Linked DNA regions of Homo sapiens: regions 1, 2 and 3 are each linked to region 4. The links are contacts of gene promoters, found by promoter capture Hi-C in human tissues and cell types (Jung and others, 2019). All regions are on one chromosome and are shown on one strand. The core of a region is centred on a gene start or on the middle of the fragment in contact, and the rest is flanking DNA. Distances in the headings are between cores, read along the strand shown. Region 1 holds the start of DFFA (DNA fragmentation factor subunit alpha). Region 2 holds the start of CA6 (carbonic anhydrase 6). Region 3 holds the start of ENO1 (enolase 1). Region 4 holds the start of SLC25A33 (solute carrier family 25 member 33).

Region 1 (4,675 bases), core at 752-3,251, 930 kb after region 4:
CATTCTCCTGCTTCAGCCTCCGGAGTAGCTGGGATTACAGGCGCCCACCACCACGCCCGGCTAATTTTTTTGTATTTTTAGTAGAGACGGGGTTTCACCGTGTTAGCCAGGATGGTCTCGATCTCCTGACCTCGTGATCCGCCCACCTCGGCCTCCCAAAGTGCTGGGATTACAGGTGTGAGCCACCGGACCCGGCCCTCAGGTGTCCTCTTAAATTCTCCTATGTGTAAAAATGTCAAAAAATACACCAAAAAGGCCAGGCACGGTGGCTCACGTCTGTAATCCCAGCACTTTGGGAGGCCGAGGCGGGTGGATCACAAAGCAGGCAATCGAGACCATCCTGGCTAACATGGTGAAAAACCGTCTCTGCTAAAAAATACAAAAAATTAGATGGGCGTGGTGGTGGGCGCCTGTAGTCCCAGCTACTCGGGAGGCTGAAGCAGGAGAATGGAGTGAACCCGGGAGGCGGAGCTTGCAGTGAGCCGAGATAGCGCCACTGCACTCCAGCCTGGGTGACAGAGTGACACTCCGTCTCAAAAAAAAAAAAAAAAAAAGAAAATGCTTTTTGTTCTTTACAGTATCTTCCTTAGCAGCTTCTTTTCTAACCTATGGGAAAGTATAAAAGAAGTGGAAGCTTCTATCAGTAGCTTTTCATATCATTATCATTGGCGGAGAGGCTTTCTCCAGGACAGGTCTGTACTATTCCATTTAGTGATAGCAATGCTTCAAATACTAACGGGACTGGAGTGATCAGAAATAGCCAAGAGACTACAAATATCCTTCAGCGGTGTTGTCTACCACCCAATAGAACAGCAAGGCATGTATGCGCTGGACTGCAGAGAACACCAGCCTCTGTGCCACGCACATCCAGCCACGGCACTGAAGGGGAATTAGAAGTAAAGTAATCTAATGTCAGGAAAAAAAATACATAAATGCTTATATGCAAAATCCATGTTACCAAAGCATTTATAATGCTTTGGCTGTTCATGGGTCTCTGAAAATTTCCATATGATTTCTGTTGGTGACTGAGAGGAAGCAACTGTGCCCTCTGACACACACTGTGACTACATGCCTGGGGCTGGCTCACACATGTAACCTGTAAAACTTCTTTGGGTAAGCGATTTGTTGCTACTGGCTAATAAGACTTGTAAGTCACTTAAATATATCATCTTATTTGAGAGAACCAACAACCCTTTGAAGCAGGGCTATAAATATTATACCCAATTTGCTGATGAGAAAACTGAGGGTTGAGAGCTGGTTAAGTGCAAGGCCAAGCAGCTGGTAAAGGTATGGGGCCGGGCTCGGAACTTCCGTCGGCTCCGTCACTTACAACTCACGTTCCTTGTCTGGACCTCCAGAAATGGTCAGTAGCAGCTCCCTCTTTCCTGCATAGGTTCCTGCCAGAGCGGACGGTGGAAACCCCTCCCCACACCGCCGTGGGCTCAGCTGGGGGTTCTTGTACCATCTGAGTGTGGCGGAGTGGCAGGAACCCAGTGGGGTCCGTTTGGTCCAACATCGAAGTGATTTCAGGCAAGAGACCTAAGCCGAGTCTGGCTTAATTTGCACATTGCTTCCTGGCTGTCTTCCCACCACCGTGGAGTCTCACACGAGATTAATTACGCTCAAGCGCCTTAAATCTGTAAATCGCTATGCCCACTCGGACCGTTTCTGTCCCAAGCCTCCACCCGAGATACAAGAATCCCCAAGTCGCCTCTCCTGACCCCGCCTCGCCCCCGCCGGACGTCCTCACCCGGCCCTGGCTCCCCCACACCCTCGCCCGGGGTCCCGAGCCAACCCTTGCTCCTCAGGTCTTCGAGGCAGGAGGCGGCCACGCCGTGCTGTTCGCGGCTGTAGTTGCGGCGCAGCAGACACGGCTTTAGAGTCCGGATCTCGCCAGATTCTGGTACCCCGGCGTCCCCGGTCACCTCCATCCTCCACAAGGTGGGACCTGCCCACCTTCGAGAAGTCGCGGGAGGCCGGAGCGGCGGTCCTTCTACTCGACCCCCTTCCGCAGCCTGCCGGGAGATGTAGTTCGTTCCGCAGCAAATCACACGTGAGACCAGGGCACGCCGGGAAATGTAGTTCTAGTTGCCGCTAATCACGTGTGGCGTCGAAGCATGCCGGAAACTGTAGTCTCTGGGTTTAAAGCCGCTTTCGTTCTATCGCGCGATTCAGCCTAGGAGTTGTTTTTAACTTTTAGGAGCTGCATTCGCGCGTTCAAATATAAGGCCAATAGAGACTTATTTTGCATGACGATGCACACGCATGTATACTGTATTGAATTTTTAGAGCATTCCTATTCGCATATGAGATGCATAATGCTAATACAGACACCCGCATGTTTCCACCCATTCTATTTCCTGCTTCAACTGTGCAAATTAGTTTGGGGTCTCAGAACAAAACGCTTAAATAAATATAGTAAGCATTAAAGTCTCAAATGCATCGGAGAGGAAAGGGGAAATGCGACTCGGCACTGTTGGAGATTGTTCAGATGCCTCTTGACAACATATTCATCTTTGTTTTAATACTGCTACTATGGAAAAGTTTGTTTTTTTCCTCCTGAAAAATAAACATCTAAGATTAAAAGAATAGTAATAAAAATGATCAAAAAGTTCCTCTCTTAAAAGAGGGCATTTTATGTAAACTAGAAGTAATTATCTGCTCATATTTATTCATTCGGGGGACACTTTCCTTCCTTGTTTCTTTTTTCTTTTTTTGAGACAGCGTTTCGCTCTGTCTCCCAGGCTGGAGTGCAGTGGCGCGATGATGGCTCACTGCAGTTTTGATCTCCTGGGCTCAAGCAATCCTCCCACCTCATATTTTGTTTATAAAAACGTGGGCAAGGGCCCCGGGGGCGGTGGCTCACCCCTGTAATCTCAGCACTTTAGGAGGCCGAGGCGGACAGATGATCTGAGGTCAGTAGTTTGAGACCAGCCTGGCCAGCATGGTGAAACCCTATCTCTACTAAAAATACAAAAATTAGCCGGGCGTGATGGCGCACGCCTGTAGTCCCAGCTCTTGGGAGGCTGAGGCAGGTGAATCGCTTGAACCCGGGAGGCGGAGGTTGCAGTCGGCCCAGATCGCACCATTGCACTCCAGCCTGGGCGTCAGGAGCAAGACTTCGTCTCAAGCAAAAACAAAAACAAAAGCAAAAACAAACAAAAAAAACGTGGGAGAGGAAATTGGATATTATCTCAAGAAAAGTTTAGACATTTAAAACAGCGTTTAGTAGGAGGAATTATTCATTAAGTCATCCCTTTTAAGCAGTCTATATTGATCAAAACACAACTATAATAGGAGCTGGCGGTTAACTCTAATGTATGTATCCTTTTTCATATAATTTCATTTTTTATTTTCTTATCTTATTTTTAGACAAGGTCTCGCTCTGTCGCCCAGGCTGGAGTGCAGTGGCATAATCATAGTTCACTGCAGCCTCAACCTCCTGGGCTCAAGGGATCCTCCTGCCTTGGCCTCCTAAAGTGTTGGGATTACAGGTGTGAGCCACTGCTCCCGTCCAATATTTAATTTAAAATCTAACAATTAAAAAAATCTAACAATTCAACCAGTGTAAAATAATGACGTTTTGTAGAAGCCTCTTCTCTTCAAAATGCCCCCTTTTATGTTCTCCCAATAGACCTGCACACTTATCCGAGTCCTATCCCCATAATACTGTAATTGTAAGTGTGTTTGGCCTGGGCGTGGGAGTAGGGATTGAGTCTTGAATGTTTTTATTTCAAGGCCTACCAAAGTCCCTAGCATATAGTAGGCACTCAATGAATGGAACTGAACTGATGTCTAAAAATTAATTTCCAAGTTTCTTCGCATTCATCCATTGGCAAGTCCCTAAATGTGCCCATGGCACTGTGGGGATGGGCAGAGATTAACTCAATAAGAATAATATGGGCCGGGCGCTGTGGCTCACTTCTGTAATCCCAACACTTTGGGAGGCCGAGGCGGGCAGATCACCTGAGGTCGGGAGTTCGAGAGCAGCCTGACCAACATGGAGAAACTCCATCTCTACTAAAAATACAATGTTAGCCGGGCATGGTGGCGCATGCCTGCAATCCCAGCTACTCGGGAGGCTGAGGCAGGAGAATCACTTGAAACCGGGAGGCTGAGGTTGCGGTGAGCCGATATCGCGCCATTGCACTCCAGCCTAGGCAACAAGTGCGAAACTCCGTCTCAAAAAAAAAAAGCAAAACCAGAATAATACACATATAACAACGCAAAGAAGATATAGACTTGGGATCTTCCTGGAAAGCAGAGTCTTAACGGAAACTATGCAAGGTGACCCGGACACCCGGGCTCCACCCCTCTGCCCCAGTCCCCTACATCGACAGGCTCTGTTCCGGCTACCTTAGTCTGGGCGGGAGGGCGAGAGCGAGGGCGCCTGGGAGAAACCTCGCCCAGCGGCGGTTGATTAGTCAGGCCTCAGAAAGATGGCGTCCTCGGAGCAGGCAGAGCAGCCGAGCCAGGTAAGGGGAGTGGGACTGCCCCGCTGTGCGGCGGAGACCCCGGCTGGAGGGGGCGCTCAGCATACGGCTGGGAGCCGGGTAGGGACCCCGAGTCTCCGAAGCTGGGGACCCCGACCTCTTGCCCCCTCCTGAGCCCCGCCCCTCCCCAGGTCCTCCCCACCCGGCCCCTCCCCCCGGTGACCCCTCTTTGACCACATTCC
Region 2 (5,013 bases), core at 108-2,607, 590 kb before region 4:
AAATCGTATCATTGCACTCCAGCCTGGTGACAGAGAGAGACCCTGTCTCAAAAAAGAAAGAAAGAGAGAAAGAGAGAAAGAAAAGAAAGAGAGAAAGGAAGAAAGAAAGAGAAAAAAGAAAAGGAAGGAAAGCTGAGGCACAGAGCGCTGAGTTGCCCATGGTCACACAGTTAGCAGGTGGCACAGATCCTGTCTAGTTTCAGAATCCTTGTCCTTGAACATGCTTTGCTCTCTCTCTGAGATTCTTTCAGCTCTTGAGCTTTAGAAATGGAAGTTTCCAGCAAGTTCTTTGCAGCAGCTGATGTTCCCTATTAAATGACAGTGGGGAGTCTTAGAAGTATTCGGGAGGCCTACGTTCACCGCTAACATCCTTGTTGTGAAGGCCTGCTGACGTTTGCCATTCCAGGACCAAGTGGACAATGAGTTAAGCTAGGCCAGGAGGGGGTTCAGCTCCCCATAACAAGGCAGGGGTGGCCCTTTGTGTCCGGCAGCATGGTAGCCCCCCCGCAGGAGCTCCGGCTACCCTTTGTGTTTGACCTTGTGGAAGGGCATGGGAAATGCTGGCCTGTCAGCAGGCATAAACTCAAAAGTTTCTCCTTCAGCTAATTTCAGGGACTGTCTAGCCAAGTGAATACACAGGATTAGGTAATCCATGGATCCTGCGAGGGCAATTGGCTGATTGGCTTAGGTGTGCCCAAGAGCCCTGCAGGTGTCAGAACAAATCCATGTAGAAATGCAGACGCCCACACCAGCTTGAATGGCATAAAGGCACACATTGGAATGTGGCTCATGAGCTGGGACCCAGGATCAACCACTGGTTTAAGGAGAGGACCGTGAAATGTCCAAACATGGAGGCCAGGCCACCTCCCTGGATGCCTGGCTGAGGGCAGCCACATGTCTGCAGCGGTGGCTTGTGTCCATGACTGAGATGGGCAGGGTTTGCAGGCAGTGGTGATCCCATCAGCAGTCCCCAGATCTCTAATGTCAGGAGAAAGAGCATGGGAAGTCCGACGTCCAGGAAAGTCTTTCATCCTGCTTCTCCCTGCCTTGGGCCTTTTCCCATTTCCGCGGTCACCTGTCCACAATGGCTGCACTGTGTGGCTCTTCAGGTGTTCCTAAGACACTGAACAACCAAACCCATGGACTGACCGGATATGAAATTGACGTGGGAGGAGATCAGGCAGGTGCTGGGGCTGCCTGGCGCAATGCACGGAGCCAGAAGTGCTGTTATGGGGAGGGTGTTATTGTTTTAGTGGGTGCAGCAAAGGGTGGTTTAGCCAGCTGGGCAGATCAATTGTAAATTGTTATTTACAGTTTCTGAGCCTTTAAAAGAAGAGCTTCGCCGGAATCAGTCTTCATTACAGATGTGCAGCACCATGAGGGCCCTGGTGCTTCTGCTGTCCCTGTTCCTGCTGGGTGGCCAGGCCCAGCATGTGTCTGACTGGACCTACTCAGGTGAGCCCCTAGCTTCTGCATGCTCCCCCAGTTACCCTCACACCCTTACAACAGGACAAGTGCCCTTCTTCTTCTTCTTTTTTTTTTTTTTAGACAAAGTCTTGCTCTGTTGCCCAGGCTTGAGTACAGTAGTGTGATGTTGGCTCACTGCAACCTCCGCCTCCCGGGTTCAAGTGATTCTGCTGCCTTAGCCTCCCGAGTACCTGGGATTACAGGTGCCTGCCACCATGCCTGGCTAATTTTTGTATTTTTAGTAGAGACAGGGTTTCACCATGTTGTCCAGGCTGGTCTCGAACTCCTGACCTTAGGTGATCTGCCCATCTCCCAAAGTGCTGGGATTACAGGCATGAGCCATTGCGCCCGGCCAAGAGTCCTCCTTTAGGGCATTTCACAGGATGGCCAGGCAGCCCACTTGCCATATGTTGGGGGTCTGCTCATTGTGGCTTCAGATGTTACCTTTTCAGTGTCTCAGAAGGTATGGAGAATAAGCTGAACTTAAACTTCAAATAAGGAAAAGAAGGAAATAGCTTTCCCCTTCACAAACTCCTGATTTACTTACAGGCTTTTTGCTTTAAATTTTTTTCCATCCACAGTGTTGGCTGGTTCAAAAGCACACTCACTGCTTCTATTTGTAAAACCATTTGCTTTGTTGGTCCGTGTAAGTGGAAAACAAAGTTCTTAGAAAAGACTCTCGGTAACCTCACGGAAGGTGCTGTGGGGTTTGCGAGACCTTCTTTCTTGGAAATTTCATGGTAGGCAGTTTACCCAGAACATCTTGACATAAGGACCCAGTTCCCTTTGATCTGTGGGCTGCCAAAATGAGAGGTGTTTTTTTTTTTGTTTTTTTTTTTTTTTTGAGACAGAGTCTTGCTCTGTTGCCCAGGCTGGAGTTCAGTGGTGCCATCTCGGCTTACTGCAACCTCTGCCTCCTGGTTTCAAGCGATTCTCATGTCTTAGCCTCCCAAGTAGCTGGGATTACAGGCACTCATCACCATGCCTGGCTAACTTTTGTATTTTTAGTGGAGATGGGGTTTTACCACGTTGGCCAGGCTGTTCTCAAACTTCTGACCTCAAGTGATCCGCCCACCTTAGCCTCCCAAAGTGCTGGGATTACAGGCGTGAGCCACCGCGCCAGGCCCCAAACCAGACTTTTAAAATGTGAAATGTAAAATCCTGGCATTCAACATGGGTTCTGGTCCACATGTGAGCCAAAGCTAGAAGGCCGTGTCTGTGGACTTTGTGGACACTAAACAGCCCTTTCCAGGGGCAGTGAGGAGAGCTTCTTCCCGCATCCCCCTTCTTTCCATACGGGACCATGGATTGGGGCCCATGAGGAGGCTGGTGGCCGCTGGCTGATGCAGGAAGTGAGACAAACATCTGCTTCCTGCAGAGTCTGCCCCAGTTCAGCTGCTCCGGAAGCATTCCTTCAGGGTGAACGGGATGATCTGTTAAGTCAAGGGCAACGGAATTAGGGACATCCTGGGAGGTTCAGAAAGTCCAGCCAGCTCTGAACAACCGCTCTGTTCCTGAGGACAGTGATCTTACACATGGCAGTGCCTCGGAAGCCTGGGGCATTCTGCTTCACTTGGCCAAGCAGTGCAGGCAGGTGGTTCAGAGGTGAAGGAAGAGAGAATTCAGACAATGAAGTCCTTGTCCTTCCCAGGCTCTGCCCAGCCTCTGAGACAGTGGGCTTCCTGGGAAACTACTAGGGGCTCCAGGAGAACTTGAGAGTAGCTTTTGTAAATGCCTTCCAGGGAAACCTGAGAGATGTTCCAGTATTGACAGTGCCCTGGGCCAAAGCATCTTGCTCTGAGAAGGCGTTGTGCTCCAGGCCAATTGCCTTGATTACAAACCAAAAAGCGGTGAGGGCCCTAGTACAGACACCTTTTTTTTTTTTTTTGAGAGTTTCACTCTCGTTGCCCAGGCTGGAGTGCAGTGGCGCGATCTCGGCTCACCGCAACCTCTGCCTCCTGGGTTCAAGTGATTCTCCTGCCTTAGCCTCTCAAGTAGCTGGGATTAACGGCATGTGCCACCATGCCCGGCTGATTGTTTTTTATTTTTAGTAGAGATGGAGTTTCTCCAGGTTTGTCAGGGTGGGTCTCGAGCTCCCAACCTTAGGTGATCCACCCGCCTCGGCCTCCCAAAGTGTTGGGATTACAGGCATGAGCCACCGTGCCCAGCCACAAACACCTGTCTTAAAACAAGCTGTGTACTCACCACACAGCTACCCCCGAACAGGGAACAGAGGTGGGATTCTCCATGTCACATGGCTGACTCCAAGCTCCACAGCTGTATGGGAGCCAAGTCACCATGATAATCACTCACCTATGTTACTCTGTCCCCTACGATTATCAACCCTCTCTGAAAAGATAAACTTTCTCCTTATGAATTTTAAAAAAGTACTCATTCTAGGTTGTCCTGGAACCTGATGCTTCCTTAGTTTCCCTGAATCCATAAGTGTAGACACCTAGATGGTCTTTACCATACGGGAATCCATAAAAGGGGCTGGAGCAAGAAAATAGTGGTGGGGGGTTCCTGCAGCATGGGGAGGTGGGGGCTGTGTTCCTGTTGGGGGCATGGAAGGACAACTGGGCCCTTGGGAGGAAATGAGGAAGAGGCCCCAGGAGCAGCACAGGAAGAGCAAAGCCAAGGATCCCTCCATGCATTCACCAGCTGGAAATAAGTCAAACGAGAGCAAAAATTTACGTATAAAACACTCTCAGGCCGGGCACGGTGGCTCACGCCTGTAATCCCAGCACTTTGGGAGGCCAAGGTGGGTGGATCACCTGAGGTCAGGAGTTAGAGATCAGCCTGGCCAACATGGTGAAACCCCGTCTCTACTAAAAATACAAAAATTAGCCAGGCGTGGTGGTGCATGCCTGTAATCCCAGCTACTCCGGAGGCTGATGCCGGATAATCTCTTGAATCTGGGAGGCAGAGGTTGCAGTGAGCCAAGATTGCACCACTGCACTCCAACCTGGGTGACACAGCGAGACCCTGTCTCAAAAAAAAAAAAAAAAGACTTCCATTGATTTCAAAACACTGTCTTGCTCCCAGGGCCAGCAGTTGCCACAGGAAAGTTAGAGGTTAGCACCAAAGCCCCCCAAACACCAGAGTCCTTGGAGTTGACCTCGTTGTCTTTTTGGCCTCCTTCTGGGGGACCTGCTTCTGCTTTCTGGAAGGTGCCTCCGTGGGTCCCCGCCCAGCAGGCCCTGGCCTCTGGCCTCTGGCCTGGTGAGGTTCCTCCAGAGTGGGCGCAGCCAGGCAGCCCCTTGAACTGTGTCTTTCCTGTCTTAGAAGGGGCACTGGACGAAGCGCACTGGCCACAGCACTACCCCGCCTGTGGGGGCCAGAGACAGTCGCCTATCAACCTACAGAGGACGAAGGTGCGGTACAACCCCTCCTTGAAGGGGCTCAATATGACAGGCTATGAGACCCAGGCAGGGGAGTTCCCCATGGTCAACAATGGCCACACAGGTAAGAGGAAGGGGTGGTGAGGGGCTCCAGTCCATGGGCAGCCTGCAGGGGAAGGCAGGTTACACGTGTCCCTGCCAGGAA
Region 3 (5,144 bases), core at 1,215-3,714, 660 kb before region 4:
TCTGGAATGTCCTGAGGTGGCAAGTGGCAGGTTTTTAACTTTCAAAATTATTTACTGAAGTCACTTCTGTGGCTTTGTTGTCTATGTAACAATGGAGTTTTATTCATTAGCCAAAAAAAGGTACTTACTTTTTACTAGGTTCCAAAAAGGCAAATTTGTTTAAACATATTTTTAGATTTAATTTTGCGTTTTGGCAAATTATATACCCGAGTAACATTTCCATCACTGCAAAAAGTTATCTCAGGCCATTTCCAGTCAATATCCCCCTGCCCCATCTCCAGGCCACCACTGTGGTATACTTTGAGTATTTCAGTCATACTTTTAAAGGCAATTTTATTAGGGTGCCTCAGTACTTTTGTTTTCATTTTAGTGACTTAAGACGAAAGAAAGTCTTGGCCGGGCGCGGTGGCTCACGCCTGTAATCCCAGCACTTTGGGAGGCCGAGGAGGGTGGATCACGAGGTCAGGAGAGGAGGCTGAGGCAGAAGAATGGTGTGAACCCGGGAGGTGGAGCTTGCAGTGAGTCGAGATCGCGCCACTACACTCCAGCCTGGGCGACAGAGAGACTCCGTCTCAGAAAAAAAAAAAAAGACAAACGTCTTAGGATGTGAAAATAAAGTGTGATTTTTTTTTTATTTTTTGAGACGGAGTTTCGCTGTTGTCGCCCAGACTGGAGTGCAATGGCGCCATTTTGGCTCACTGCAACCTCAGCCTCCTGTCTCAGCCTCCCGAGTAGGTGGGATTACAGGCGCCTGCCATTACGCCCAGGTGATTTTTTTTTTTTTTTGAGACGGAGTCGCGCTCTTTCGCCCAGGCTAGAGTGCAGTGACACGATCTCGACTCACTGCAGGCTCCGCCTCCAGAGTAGCTGGGACTACAGGCGCCCACCACCACACCCGGCTAATTTTTTGTATTTTTAGTAGAGATGGGGTTTAGTAGAGTAGGATGGTCTCGATCTCCTGACCTCGTGAGCCACCCACCTCGGCCTCCCAAAGTGCTAGGATTACAGGCGTGAGCCACCGCGCCTGGTCGATTTTTGTATTTTCAGTAGAGACGGGGTTTCACCACGTTGGTCAGGCTGGTCTCTAACTCCCGACCTCAGGTGATCCTGAGGAGGCCCACCTCGGCATCCCAAAGTGCTCGGATTACAGGCGTGAGCCACCGCGCCCGGACCATTCACAGCTTTTTTAGCTGCCTGGATGGAACCCCGAATTAGGGACACGGTAAATGAATGGAGCAGTCAGGGCCCGGGTGGGCCTGAAAGGCAAGTGAAGCAATGGACCCTACCGCCCAGAGAAGCGCACAGAGCAGGGGAACATTGAACAGGAAGCTTTCTTAAAATACATCCTTCTTGGCCTAGCGCGGTGGCTCACGCCTGTAATCCCAGCACTTTGGGAGGCCGAGGCGGGCGGATCACCTGAGGTCGGGAGCTCAAGACCAGCCTGGCCAACATGGTGAAACACCGCCTCTACTAAAACAACAACAACAACAAAAAAAAAACAAAATTAGCCGGGCGTGGTGGCGCATGCCTGTAATCCCAGCTACTCGGGAGGCTGAGGTAGGAGAATCGCTTGAACCCAGGAGGCCGAGGTTGCGGTGAACCGAGATCCGAGATCGCGCAATTGCACTCCAGCCTGGGCAACAATAGCAAAACTCAAAAAAAAAAAAAAACCAAATCAGATCAGGCCCGATTTTTGGTGGCCAGCCGGGGAGCCGCTCTTGCCCAACTTGGGCGAGGTCGCCTGGAGGACTTGCCAATGATCTAACGGCTCTGCTGTAGGTTCCTCAAGAGGTGCCTTCTCGGAGTTAAATGAGTCACCGCTTACTAGGCAGAAGCGCGGGCCGCGAGCGCGGGCGAGAGGCGGGGGCTACCGGTGGGGGAGGGGGCCGCAGCCTCGTGGCCATCTCCACTATCGCCGCCCTCCTCCATTTTAGGAAGGGCCTGGCCTGAGTGGCCACCGCCGCTAAGTCTGCGTCTATCCCAAAAACCTTACACTTGGCTACGATGGAAAAGCAACTTCCACTCCCAACTCCCGCTGTGCTAAGCAGCTCGCGTGTGCAGCTCCCGACCTTCCCTGACAGTGACTCGGCCCCGCAGTCGGTAATCACGTGTTGATCTGCACTTTCCCCTCCAAAGAAATCGGGGGCCCAGCACGTGCGCCTGGCATTGCGCCCCCGCCCCGGGCCTCGGGGTGAGCGGGGGCGCCAGTTCCCACCCAGGGAGGCGGCTTGCACGTGCCCCCGACCCCGCCACGCTGGGCCTGCGGGCGCGCCGCCTCCCTCGGAGGGAAAAGAGCCCCACAAGCCCAGAAAAGCCCTGCGCCGCCTGCCCGTTGCTCAGCCCTTCCCCAATCATTACCTAGCCACTGGGTCTCGTCGCCTAGGAGAGGAAGCGGAGGGTGCTGCAGACACCGAGGTGAACGTAAAGCCGGCGAGATCTCCGTGCTCCGGGTACCCACAGATACTGTCCGCGCCGCCCGCGCCGACTTCCTGCCTAGCTAAGGCGAGCCCCACCCACTTCCCGCCTCCGGGGCACGCCCCCTCAGCTCCGCCTCGCCATTCGTCGGGAGAGCCGTCACTCATTCCCTCACCTCCCGGAAAGGGGTGGGACTGCGACGGCTGCAGTAGCGTGGAAAGGGGGGTGACGTCCCGCGGACTTGAGGCGGGCAGATCTGGGGGGCCCCGACTCCCCAGCGGCCCTGTAGTGGTGCGGGCGAAACTCTGGCCCCAGATAGGACCGGTGAGCCGAACTGGGGTGTGCGGAGCCGGGGCTCCGGGGGATGGCCCGGGGCGGCGTGGCGGGCATGAGAGCTCGGGGCTCCGTCACGTACTCCGAGTCCCGCACGCACTCAGCGTCGCTCTGGGGCCCCACGTCCGGCCCTCGACCTTGCTGACAACTTTGGCGGCCCGGGCCTGCCGCGGCCCTCCTGCCCCGCCCCTCCTGCCTCGCGCCGCGATCCGAGAGACCCCGTTGGCGTCGAGTCGTTGAGAGGCTGCGCGCCTCGGCCCCACTCCGGGGTTGGGGCGCTGGCCCCGCCGCAGCGCTGCGTGTCCGGGGCCACGTGCGCCGCCTGCGCCTGCGCGCTGCCCTCCAGCCGCGCCCGTCTGGCCGGGCTCCGCCTGGCACCCGCCAAGGTGACCCTGTCCCTTTCTCCTTGCTGCGGTGAGAATCAGGCCGAGACAGCCAAAGGAAGGTTCACTTTCCTTTAATTCTACCTCATACTTTTTGAGTGCCTTCTAGGTGTCCGGCGCGCCCCCACGTGCTTCCCCAGTGTTAATTCATTCTCTCTCTAGTCCATGTCATGTTGCCTCTCAAATTTTACATCCCTCTCATTCCCATCTAGGGAACTAGATCAAACCTACCTGGATTCTTGTGAACCATTCATGTGAATTATTTGGAACTGGAATTTCACACAGACCCGGGGAATTTCTCAAAGTTCAAGACGGGTCATATTCCGTGGAATACGGAAGGAGTTGGAGTGATTTCACTTTTCTGATCAAGAACTGATAGCCATTAAAACTCAGCTCCGCAATATATCCCCCCACTCCAAGGGAGGGCTGAGATGATCACTTCGTTTTCTGTTACGGCTACTTTTATATTTTTCAACATTACTGCTGGTCTGTAAGAGAACTAAAACATCTGATTTTCCTCATTTCCTTGTAAAGAGGTGTTCAAATATGTACTTGAATTTAATTATTTCTTCTGGTCAGCTGCAAAACCTGCTTTTCTTCCTTAACCCCTAGCATTTTTATCCTCTTAGCTACAGACAGGTTTCCATGGCGTTGGTTAAAAATTAAGGCCTATTGAGACCATAGTATTTGCTTTCCAGTGAGTAAGAAGCAAGAACTTTAGGATTAAATTCAGCAAAAAGAAAAAAAAAAAGAGTAAAATTTTGCAAGCAGAGTTTGTGATTTCACCAGCAACACACTAACGTTTTTGGCTACTGAAAACCACTATCCCCAGCCCCATGACTCAGCAGCTAAATCAACAGCCAACATCTCCTACTGGTAAGGACTCTAAGAAATCAGGCACTTGGTACTCTCAGAGCAATTCTAAGGCGTGGCCCTGAAAGGGCTCCAAACAATCTTATTTTACATAAAAATGGTTAGAGAGATAAAGATACTCTGCTGTGGCCAGAACCAGTAAATCTAGCAGGAAATCAGAGGCCGAACATGATCCCGGACTGCTGCCGTTGCAAGATTCTTGGAGGCTGCAGCGCCACATTCTGAGCCAGCACTTCGACCTCACATTGTAGCTAAAATGTTAATGATTACTAGAGATGTCCTGAAATCTTTTTCAAAATTCACAGGCTGCCAAATGCCCTCCCTGTTTCCATAGCTCCTTAGGCTTTGTTAGCAGGCTGTGGGGTTCACATTTGCTTGTAGTCAGCACAACGGCATTGCATTTAGTTATTATTTCTCACTTGCTGTAAGCTTGTTGAGAAGTTTTATTGGTGGTGGGCAGGTGGGGAATAACTGTCCAAAGCTATCAGAATACCACACCTTGAAGCACTGTAGGTAACACATGCATGGTGTCTGCAGGTGGCCGGGATCAAGGGAGAGTGAATCTGCTACGACCTGTAACTCGCTTGGATTACTGATTCTCCCTGTGATACGTGTGTAAAAATCACTGGTCAGCTTGAGAAAGGGATCTTTGTGAAAGAGGGTCTCCAGCCAGATAGGGAACTTCAGGGTTGGATAAGGAGCTCTGGGGAGGTAAGATACCAGATGAGTGCAGAAGGGGATGTAGCTGGATGGTCCCTCCTCATAACAGATCATGAGGTTTTGGTATTCATCACTCAGTATTTCACGTACACCAGAGACTACATAAAGCGTATATAAATCTCTGTGTACCCACATCCCGCTTAAGAAATGGAACACCATGCTGGGCGCGGTGGCTCACGCCTGTCATCCCAGCACTTTGGGAGGCCGAGGCGGGCGGATGACGAGGTCAGGAGTTCCAAGACTAGCCTGACCAACATGGTGAAACCCCGTCTCTACTAAAAATATAAAAATCAGCTGGGCTTGGTGGCAGGCGCCTGTAGTCCCAGTTACTCAGGAGGCTGAGGCAGGAGAACCACTTGAACCCGGGAGGCGGAGCTTGCAGTGAGCCGAGATCACGCCACTGCACTCCAGCCTGGATGA
Region 4 (4,793 bases), core at 1,561-4,060:
ATGGATTGATTTTTTGAATGTTAAACCAATCTCTAATTCCTGGGCATCTCTCATTTCGTCCTGATGTATTATCCTTTTTCTATATTGCTGGATTTGATTGCCAATGTTTCATTAAAGGTTTTTATCTATTGGAATCTCTGTTGTATACCCAGTACATGGCCATGGCCAATGCCTGAGCTGGTGTCAGAGGAGCTCTAGAAGTCTAGGAAGGGGGCCATCCTAGTCAGGGAAAATAGCAGGTTCAAGCCAGGCGTGGTGGCTCACACCTGTAATCTCAGCACTTTGGGAGGCCAAGGCGGGCGGATCACCTGAGGTCAGGAGTTCGAGCCCAGCCTGGCCAACATAGTGAAACCCTGTCTCTACTAAAAATACAAAAATTAACCAGGCATGGTTGCGGGCGCCTGTAATCCCAGCTACTCGGGAGGCTGAGGCAGGAGAAACGCTTGAACCCAAGAGGTGGGGGTCGCAGTGAGCCGAGAACGCACCATTGCACTCCAGCCTGGGCAACAAGAGTGAAACACCGTGTCAAAAAAAAAAAAAAAGAAAAAACCAACAAAAATTAGCCAAGCATGGTGGCATATGTCTGTAATCCCAGCTACTCAGGAGGCTGAGGCAGGACAATCGCTTGAATCTGGGAGGTGGAGTATGCAGTGAGCCAAGATGGTGCCACTGCACTCCAGCCTGGGTGACAGAATGAGGCCTCCTCTTAAAATAATAGGCCAGGTGCGGTGACTCACGCCTGTAACCCCAGCACTCTGGGAGGCTGAGGTGGGCGGATCACGAGGTCAGGAGTTTGAGACCAGCCTGACCAACATGGTGAAACCCTGTCTCTACTAAAAATACAAAAATTAGCCCAGTGTGGTGGTGCATGCCTGTAATCCCAGCTACTCAGGAGGCTGAGGCAGGAGAATTGCTTGAACCCGGGAGGCAGAGGTTGCAGTGAGACGAGATCGTGCCACTGCACTCCAGCCTGGGTGACAGAGCAAGACTCCATCTCAAAATAAATAAATAAAAATTAAAAAAAACATATAATAAAAATAAAAAATTATTTATTTTTACTTTTTTTTTTCTTTTGTAGAGACAGGGTTTTGCCACGTTATCCAGGCTGGTCTTGAGCTACTAGACTCAAGTCATCCACTCTTCTCAGCCTCCCAAAGTGCTGGGATGACAGGAGTGGGCCACTGTGCTGGGTTTTCTTTACTTCTTTTTCTCAGATATCTCATGCCCTAGTATGGCTTCCCCTTCTCCTAGGCCTGGGAGCAATGGCTTTAATAGTAACCACTGTATTTGCATTTTGGAGGACTGCTCCTAAGAGCTGTTTTTATTTAAAGAGTCCCAGCAATCAAATACAGATTGGCTGGCTAGCTCCCACGTTTCCACACAATTCCCTCCTACTTAAGCTCTCTATGTTTACACACAGGACATCTAACTGCTTGTTCTGGTCAAGGTACAGCTTTCCGGAGCTCTGAGAGACGGAAGAGAAAGGGTTGGTACGTTCTGCAGGTGAATGGTGGTCTGCTGAGAGAGAGACAGACAGAGAGACATAGTCCAAGGTAACAGGAAAGCTTCTGGCACTGGTGCCTGTGCAGTCAGTGGTGTCACTGCCAGGACAGGAAATAGAGGTAGAGCAGGTTTGGGGGAGGGGAAGAATGATAAGTTCAATTTGGGACCTTTATTCATTAGCTCCTTGGGCATTACTAGGTGGCAGGTACTGTGTCAGGAACAACTGTGAACAAAAGAAATAAGGTCCCTGCTCTCCTGAAGCTTACATTCCTGTATGGGAAGGACAACTTAAATAAATCAACAAACTAACTGCAGAAGCCCTGGTTCTATAGTCGTGTGACAGACTGCGCTGCAAAGGCGGCCAGGAAAGTCTCCATCTGGGGGAGACCTGGAGATTAGAAGATGTCAGGTTGAGTATGACAATGACCCAGTGACATAGGCTGAGAGAAGCAGTTTGGATATCTAGGTCTGGGCTGGAGATGATCAGAAAAGAAGCAAAAAGCATACTGCAAAATATACGCAGCATATACTACTACTTATAGGGAGATCAAAAATCCACATAATGATAATGATTATTAATTATTTGAGACAGAGTCTCGCTTTGTCGTCCAGGCTGGAGTGCAGTGGCAAGATCTTGGCTCACTGCAGCCCCCGCCTCCCGGGCTCAAGCGATTATCCAGCCTCAGCCACCCAAGTAGCTGGGATGACAGGGGTGCGCCGCCTCGTCCGGCTAACTTTTGTATTTCTAGTAGAGACACGGTTTCGCCGTCTTGGACAGGTTGGTCTGTAACTCCTGGCTTCAGGCGATCCGCCCGCCCGCCTCGGCCTCCCAAAGTGTTGAGATTGCAGGCGTGAGCCACCGTGAGGGCCTCACTGATTATCTAAGGCTGTTTAGATTATAGATTTTTAGATTATGTTTTTGTTTCCCTAAACGGGGTGGTGAGTACAGAGGTGTGAGATGTAACACGTAATTTGTACACCTTTTGCACACGTAAATATCACAAAGTAAACTTTTAAAATAAGGCAAGGCCTAGGGCCTCGCGAGGCTTCTCTGAGGAGCGAGGACCAGTCAGTCACAGCCAGTTTCCACTGCCTCCACGCTCCGGCCTAGGCCAGCCCCTCTCCCCAGTCATTCGCTCGGGGCTGGCTCCGCCCCAGAACTGCGCAACCTCCCCGCCCACATCCGCGTCCTAACCAATGAGCGCTCGAAATTTGGGTCCACACCCCCGTCACGCCCCGCCCCAGACTCGCGCGCCCGTGACGTCACGGTCCGGCCCCCGCCACGTGACGGCCGCGCGCCGGGCTCTAGCTCCCCGCCGGGCTCGCGCCGCAGAGGCCGGTGAGGCGCCGGCGGCCACGCCGCGGAAGGCGCGGGCCGAGCAGAGCCGGGCGTTGGAGCCCGCGCGCGCATGGAGGCGTTGCCGGCAGCCCCCTGAGGGCAGCGGGGAGACAAGACCCGGCGACCTCGCGCATCCCTCGAGCCGCCACGCGCTCTCGCCACCGGGCGGCGACGGGCCGCGGAGCCGGCGCGGCCATGGCGACGGGCGGCCAGCAGAAGGAGAACACGCTGCTTCACCTCTTCGCCGGCGGGTGAGTTCCCGGGCCCAGCCGCGCGCGCCCCACCGCCTGCGGTCCCCTCGGCCTTCGCCCCGGGCGCGGCCCCAGCCTCCCGCGGCGGTTACCGGCCTTCCCCGGGCTACGGCGCCGGCGCTCGGGAGGAGGAAGTCCCGGCGTCGGGGACTGGTGGGCAGGGCCGAGGGAGGGGGTCGGGCCTTCCTCACCCCTACGTCCTGACCGCAGCCCCGAGGGCGGCTGTGCCCCGCCGCCCGTCCTCCCCGCGGCGTCCCCAGCTTTTCCCCATTCTGAAGAGTCAGTGGCCGGTGAGTGGTGCTCGGCGGCGGTCCAGCCTGGACGCTGTGGCGCGGCCCCCCCTCCCCCGCCCCCTTCTCCTGGGGCCTCTCCCGAAGCGCAGCGCCTCAGAGCCCGTGGTAGGATCGCTGATGCTCGGGTGTGCCCGAGGTTCCTCAGGGCAGCGCGGGAGGTCATCCGGACGGGCAAAAAGGTCTGCGGACGTTGGACGTCAGCAAGGCCTGGGTGGTGCTGGTGAACGGTGATGCTTGCGGCCACACGCGGGGTGGCTAAGCCAGGGACCCGAACTCATATGAGGTCTGGAAGGTGTGTTGAGACACTTCTCGCCGGCTGGTAGACGCTTCCAACGCCAGAGACCGCAGAATTGTAAGGTGTTCCTTGTTTTGAAAGCTGCATTAGGTCTATGGTCAGGCACCTTTTTTCCAGCGGAGACAATGCATTTTTAGGAGGTTGAGTTCTGCGGTTAGGAAGGGAGATGGTACCCCTCGCCACCTCCCCTTGTCACCTCCCGCCGAGAATAGAAGGTAAAATATTTTTGAGTATTAGTAATTTTCTTTTTTCCTTTATCACAGCCGGTGGCTTGGGGTCCTTTCGGAGTCTTACAGATATTTGGAGTATTAATTTGAGGACCTCATCGGCCTGGCACAGGAATTTTTGAGTGTAGGATATTTTGCATAAAATAGTTTATTCTGGGATGATCATCTTGGCTTGAGTAGTTGCAGCCTGGATTCCTACCTGGATATGTTCCTTACAACAAACAATGGTTGAGAAACTTATCTTGGAAGATGACTGATGAAAGCGTCCCTGAGCTTTTTTTGTACTTGTATTGTGGGCAGTCACCAGGTTACTTTAACCAAAAACTTCGGTGGGTCTTCATAGATTGGAAGAGTTTCTCATTCATCTCTTCCCTGTCATTCATTCCCTTGCAACCCTTCCCTCCATGTCTCCATTGAGACTTCCTTTTTTTTTTTGAGAGGGAGTCTTCCTCTGTCGCCCAGGCTGGAGTGCAGTGGTGCGATCTTTGGGCTCACTGCAACTTCCGCCTCCCGGATTCAGGCGATTCTCCTGCCTCAGCCTCCCGAGTAGCTGGGATTACAGGCCCCGCCACCAAGCCTGGCTAATTTTTTTTTTCTTTTTTTTTTTTTGAGACGGAGTTTCGCTCTGTAGCCCAGGCTGGAGTGCACTGGCGCCATCTCAGCTCACTGCAAGCTCCGCCTCCCGGGTTCACGCCATTCTCCTGTCTCAGCCTCCCGAGTAGCTGGGACTACAGGCACCCGCCACTACGCCCAGCTTTTTGTATTTTTAGTAGAGACGGGGTTTCACCGTGTTAGCCAGGATGGTCTCGATCTCCTGACCTCGTGATCCGCCCGCCTCGGCCTCCCAAAGTGCTGGGATTACAAGTGTGAGCCACTGCGCCCGGC

What was found. The method cuts DNA at HindIII sites, captures the fragments that hold promoters and counts their contacts. A contact is called where the count stands out against the background at its distance.
Region 1: the fragment with the promoter of DFFA here is called in contact with the fragment with the promoter of SLC25A33 in region 4 in 1 of the 25 tissues and cell types used here (pancreas).
Region 2: the fragment with the promoter of CA6 here is called in contact with the fragment with the promoter of SLC25A33 in region 4 in 1 of the 25 tissues and cell types used here (adrenal gland).
Region 3: a contact is called between the fragment with the promoter of ENO1 here and the fragment with the promoter of SLC25A33 in region 4, in 1 of the 25 tissues and cell types used here (dorsolateral prefrontal cortex).

The regions. Positions count from the first base shown.
Region 1 is chr1:10,470,528-10,475,202 of GRCh38, forward strand. DFFA (DNA fragmentation factor subunit alpha) reads right to left here and starts at 2,002. Exons shown (of 6, transcript NM_004401.3): 1 at 1,796-2,002. The coding sequence starts at 1,931. PEX14 (peroxisomal biogenesis factor 14) reads left to right here and starts at 4,423. Exons shown (of 9, transcript NM_004565.3): 1 at 4,423-4,475. The coding sequence starts at 4,440. RefSeq lists enhancers at 1,471-1,570, 3,532-4,497, 4,320-4,509 and a silencer at 4,510-4,675. The HindIII fragment of the contact is 16,915 bases long and covers 1-4,675 here.
Region 2 is chr1:8,944,511-8,949,523 of GRCh38, forward strand. It overlaps CA6 (carbonic anhydrase 6), which reads left to right and starts at 1,358. Exons shown (of 8, transcript NM_001215.4): 1 at 1,358-1,455; 2 at 4,753-4,932. The coding sequence starts at 1,377. The HindIII fragment of the contact is 10,958 bases long and covers 1-5,013 here.
Region 3 is chr1:8,876,222-8,881,365 of GRCh38, forward strand. It overlaps ENO1 (enolase 1), which reads right to left and starts at 2,465. Exons shown (of 12, transcript NM_001428.5): 1 at 2,359-2,465. ENO1-AS1 (ENO1 antisense RNA 1) reads left to right here and starts at 2,614. Exons shown (of 2, transcript NR_038351.1): 1 at 2,614-2,739; 2 at 3,344-3,664. RefSeq lists enhancers at 1,302-1,894, 1,895-2,488, 2,489-3,080 and silencers at 1,839-1,958, 2,169-2,218, 2,939-3,188. The HindIII fragment of the contact is 5,823 bases long and covers 1-5,144 here.
Region 4 is chr1:9,536,655-9,541,447 of GRCh38, forward strand. SLC25A33 (solute carrier family 25 member 33) reads left to right here and starts at 2,811. Exons shown (of 7, transcript NM_032315.3): 1 at 2,811-3,093. The coding sequence starts at 3,038. RefSeq lists silencers at 2,567-3,086, 3,107-3,466 and enhancers at 2,576-2,870, 3,537-3,666, 4,692-4,793. The HindIII fragment of the contact is 17,899 bases long and covers 1-4,793 here.